Regions from separate parts of the Homo sapiens genome. Here region 1 is linked to region 2. The links are contacts of gene promoters, found by promoter capture Hi-C in human tissues and cell types (Jung and others, 2019). All regions are on one chromosome and are shown on one strand. The core of a region is centred on a gene start or on the middle of the fragment in contact, and the rest is flanking DNA. Distances in the headings are between cores, read along the strand shown. Region 1 overlaps MIR31HG (MIR31 host gene). Region 2 holds the start of IFNA5 (interferon alpha 5).

The links. Contacts are between HindIII fragments. The study calls those that stand out against the background at their distance.
Region 1: a contact is called between a fragment that was not itself captured here and the fragment with the promoter of IFNA5 in region 2, in 1 of the 25 tissues and cell types used here (lymphoblastoid cells).

Annotation. Positions count from the first base shown.
Region 1 is chr9:21,526,567-21,529,266 of GRCh38, reverse strand. All of the region lies in intron 1 of MIR31HG (MIR31 host gene), which reads left to right. Among named protein-coding and RNA genes, the nearest start is that of MIR31, 16 kb to the right of the region's middle. The HindIII fragment of the contact is 3,478 bases long and covers 1-2,700 here.
Region 2 is chr9:21,303,878-21,306,577 of GRCh38, reverse strand. IFNA5 (interferon alpha 5) reads left to right here and starts at 1,265. Exons shown (of 1, transcript NM_002169.3): 1 at 1,265-2,252. The coding sequence starts at 1,322. The coding sequence ends at 1,891. The region is part of intron 2 of LOC107987053 (a long non-coding RNA gene); the gene reads right to left. The HindIII fragment of the contact is 6,884 bases long and covers 1-2,700 here.

The DNA.
Region 1 (2,700 bases), core at 146-2,645, 220 kb before region 2:
GTGGTGTGAACAGCAAAATTTGAATTAGAAGTGGAGCCTGAAGATGTGACTGAATTGCTGCAGTCGTATAATAAAACTTTAATAGATAAGGAGTTGATTCTTATAGGTGATCAAGAAAGTGGTTTCTTGAGGTGGAACAACTCCTTGTGAAGATGCCGTGAATATTGTTGGAATGACAATAAAGGATTTAGAATATTCCATAAACTTAGTTGATAAAGCAGTTGCAGTGTTTGAGAAGATTGACTCCAGTTTTGAAGGAAATCTTACTATGGGCAAAATGCTAAATGGCATCCCATGCTATTTCTTTAAAGGAGAGTTGATTAATGCTGTTTTAGTTAAGAAATTGCAGGGAGAGAGCAAGATGGCCAACCAGATGGACCCAGGAAGAACAGCTACCACTGATGGACCAAGACACTGGCGCACACTCCTAACAGATATTCAGAGGGAAGGCACCGAGAGTAGATGGAAGGAAGACACAGAAGCTGGGCTGAAGTGGGAGGAAGCTTGGAATTCTGCACAGGATTACCATGCACCGGGACTCATTCCTGGCCCTTAAAGACTCCAGGGGAACTGGTGAGTTGAACTGGCAAGGAGCAAGCCACTTTCACCACGGGCCTCTGGCTGCTTAGAGAAGTGGTAGGAGCCTCATGCCAGCTGAAGTGGAGCCCAGAGCTCTTGGTGTGGGAGTGTCTGTAGTAGAGCACTGCCAGGGAAGCCCATCTCCCTAGGCTCGACTTGCTCCCATAGGAGACCTTAGCCCTAGGGGAACTGTTGGACCTGAACTCTGCAGGGTGGTCTTACCCACCATATGGCGCCAGTCTGATCTGAGCACCACTTGGTGTGCTGGCCTCTCCTAGGTCCCAGCCTGGCCACACCTACTTGCAGGGCAGCCTCGGGTACCCTGGGGGCCCACATCATAGCTTCTGCACTGGTGGACCCTGCCTGACTAGTGGAGAGCTCCAGCAGAGCAACCCCCACAGCCACACACCAGCCCACCCACACCCTCCCCGCACAGCCACTTCCCCAGGGCCCAAAGCAACCTCCCACATTGCTTTGCCAGCACGTGTGTATGGGAGCAGGTTTTGCCACCTTTGTTCTGTCAGTGTGCCTGTGTGCGTGCACCCTCCTCTGCCACTGCCGCAGTGGGGTTGCACTCTGCTCTTTCTTCCCCTGCCAGACCACCATTGCAGTCAGAGTGTTGGTGGACCCATGGAAAATCAGCCCCACTCCCACTAGCACCACATCCTTGCACCAACACTGACACAGAAGTGAAACTAGGCACAGAGAACAGCAGACCCTCCCCTACCCTGAGAAACCACCCCTTCATGCAGTTCACAGAGAATGCATACAGACCTGTACCCACCAGCACCCTGCCCCTATGCATCCCCAAGACAGCACAATCATGTGTAATAATCACCAGCAGGGGTCCCCAACCTCTGGAACCCTGCTGTCTCCACCACTGTGGTGAACACCTGCACGGAGGCAGGCACCCAGTAACCCACTGGTACCCTGTCACAGCTGATGAGCATGTACCCTGCTGCGCTGTCACTGCTGCTGGCATATGCAAATGAGGAAGAATGCTGCTGCCACTGCACTATGAGCACACAGTCCTGAGGTTGGGAGCTGAGTGTTGGCCCCCTAAAACCTTCCAGAAACAAACCAGTAGACTAAATCCACCTTATACCACAAACTCTCAAGGTCATCAAGTAAGATAAAAGGAAAATAAAAACATCCAACAGTCAGCAACTTCAAAGATTGAAGAAGCACCAGCTCATAAAAATGAGAAAGAACCAGCAGAAGAGCACTGACAACTCAAAAGCCAGAGTACCTTCTTTCCTATAAACAACTGCAAGTGTTCTGAACTGGGCTGAGATAGCTGAAATGACAGAAATAAAATTCAAAATATGGATAGGAACAAAGATCACTGGGCTTCAGGGCACATTGAAACCCAATCCAAGGAAGCTAAGAATCACAGTAAAACAGTGCAGGAGCTGACAGACACAATGGCCAGTGTAGAAAAGAACATAACCACCCTAATAGAGCTGAAAAACACACTACAAGAATTTCATGGTGCAGTCACAATTATTAATAGCAGAGCAGAACAAGAGGAGGAAAGAATCAGAGCTTGAAGACTGGCTTTCTGAAATAAGACAGTCAGACAAGAATAGAGAATAAAGAATGGAAATGAATGAACAAAACCTCTGAAAAATATGGAGTTCTGTAAAGAGACCAAATCTGTGACCCATTGATGTCCCTGATTGGAAAGAGATGAGGAGAGTATGAGCAACTTGTAAAATGTATTTCAGGATATCATCCATGGAAACACTTCCAACCTAGGTAGGGAAGCCAACATTCAAATTCAGGAAGTGCAGAGAACCCTAGTAAGGTACTTCACAAGAAGATCATCCCCAAGACACATAATTATCAGATTCTCCAAGGTCAAAATGAAAGAGCAAATGTTAAAGGCAGCTAGAAAGAAAGGTCAGGTCACCTACATAGGGAAGCCTATCACACTAAGAGCAGATCTCTCAGCAGAAACCCTACAAACCAAAAGAGATTGGGGACCAATATTCAACATTCCTAAAAAAATTCTAACCCAGAATTTCATATCTTGTCAAACGAGTCTTCATAAGCAAAGGAGAAATAAGATCCTTTCCAATCAAGCAAATGCTGATGGAATTCATTACCTCCCAACCTGCC
Region 2 (2,700 bases), core at 16-2,515:
CGACTCCCTGGTTCAAGCAATTCTCCTGCCTCAGCCTCCCGAGTAGCTGGGATTACAGGCACGTGCCACCACGCCCAGCTAATTTTTGTATTTTTAGTAGAGACGGGCTTTCACCATGTTGTCCAGGAGGGTCTTGATCTCCTGACCTTGTAATCCACCCACCTCAGCCTCCCAAAGTGCTGGGATTACAGATGTGAGCCACCGCGCCTGGCCTAATTTGGTTTTCTTGTAACATCAGAAGCATTGACCTTGAGTTCATGGAAGATACACAAAAGGTATACAAGATCAGTGCTACAAGCATATGGCAAATGGGTGGCTGTTATTGGAGGACTTTCCAAGATTTATTAGATGTCAAAGTCATATCATGTGAGGTGGCCTCTGTATACATATGAGCTGTCATTTGCTGTCTTGTGTATGTTGCTTATATTTGATCCTGAGCATTTATGACTGTGTTTTGAGTTTTGAGGTTTCAATAAAAATACTTTATCTTTTACTATTTAATTCTACTAAAGTTGTTCAACACATCAATAATTATGTCAAGCACTGAAGAGAAAAAGGTTTTTGACAATATCTAGATCAATATCTAGAAGCTAGTGAATTTTTTAAATTTCCCTATGAAGCAAAATTGAAAGTACCCTAAAAATAAATGTTACAAATAATTTCAATTTTAATAGTCTTTAGCTATTTTGAATTTTTAAATATTTCATTATACTAGGCAATATTATATATTTTCATAATTTGTTAATTTACTTATTTAATCTGACACACTACAATTTATATAAGTAAATAAATCACATTGTTACTTAAACAAATTGAACTATGAAGTTAAATATCCATAAATTGTAAATTTAATTATTAACTTTTACCTTAGAATTTTCATTTGCTCATTCTTAATCCGGGACTGAATAAATTCTATTTTACATTCTATTACGCTGCTTTTAAAGCATTAAAGAAGTACAATATTCTCTCTCGATAATGGGTACTGTAATGTATATACATCAGCCAACACATAGTATATCTGTGTTATTAAAATTTAATGGGATTTTTAGTTAGAAAAAAAATTTCTAAAAAGCATATGTGGCAGAGGAAGATGAGGTAATAATGTAAAAATAAATAAACTGAGAAACACTCCTGTACATCTATGTAGAAAGAGCATAAAAGAAAGCAAAAAGAGAAGTAGAAAGTAACACAAGGCATTCAGAAAATGGAAACTCGTATGTGACCTTTTTAAGATCTGTGCACAAAACAAGGTCTTCAGAGAAGAGCCCAAGGTTCAGGGTCACTCAATCTCAACAGCCCAGAAGCATCTGCAACCTCCCCAATGGCCTTGCCCTTTGTTTTACTGATGGCCCTGGTGGTGCTCAACTGCAAGTCAATCTGTTCTCTGGGCTGTGATCTGCCTCAGACCCACAGCCTGAGTAACAGGAGGACTTTGATGATAATGGCACAAATGGGAAGAATCTCTCCTTTCTCCTGCCTGAAGGACAGACATGACTTTGGATTTCCTCAGGAGGAGTTTGATGGCAACCAGTTCCAGAAGGCTCAAGCCATCTCTGTCCTCCATGAGATGATCCAGCAGACCTTCAATCTCTTCAGCACAAAGGACTCATCTGCTACTTGGGATGAGACACTTCTAGACAAATTCTACACTGAACTTTACCAGCAGCTGAATGACCTGGAAGCCTGTATGATGCAGGAGGTTGGAGTGGAAGACACTCCTCTGATGAATGTGGACTCTATCCTGACTGTGAGAAAATACTTTCAAAGAATCACCCTCTATCTGACAGAGAAGAAATACAGCCCTTGTGCATGGGAGGTTGTCAGAGCAGAAATCATGAGATCCTTCTCTTTATCAGCAAACTTGCAAGAAAGATTAAGGAGGAAGGAATGAAAACTGGTTCAACATCGAAATGATTCTCATTGACTAGTACACCATTTCACACTTCTTGAGTTCTGCCGTTTCAAATATTAATTTCTGCTATATCCATGACTTGAGTTGAATCAAAATTTTCAAACGTTTCACACGTGTTAAGCAACACTTCTTTAGCTCCACAGGGACAAAATCTTTACAGATGATCATGCCAATCTATCTATTCTATCTATTTATCTATCTGTCTGTCTTCTATCTAATCTATTTAAATATTTATTTATTTATAAGATTTAAATTATTTTAAATTATGTTTGTTCAGGTAATATTACATCCACCTTTACTTTGTGGCTAATATAATAAAATATGTTCTTTATGTTTTGTCAACTGATTATTTTGCTTTGTTCATTAGATTTTTACTATTAATTGTTTGTTTATTCTTTAAAATGAAACTCCAAGCCTGATTGTATAACTTGATTAAAAACAGATGGTACAGTTCAGTTACCTATCATTATTTTATTCAAATTTTAAGTAAAGGAAGATTTTTCTTAAGTGAACATAATAAATACAATTCCTGTTCCCTTGTATCTTTGATTTTTGCCAGAAATTTAACAACAATAATTATGATTAATATGAGTTATGTTAAATGCTATAATGTGAGCTAGGAAAAAAAACAGTGAATTGCTCTCAGCAGAACGCAGATAGAGGCACGTCCAGAAAGAAAAATAAAAGCAGAGCTAGCCTCTCTAAACTGACTTTTAAACATGTAATTGCGAATGTGCATTGCTAGTCAGATACATGAGTTTGCAATATCCAAGGAATACAATGTCTGG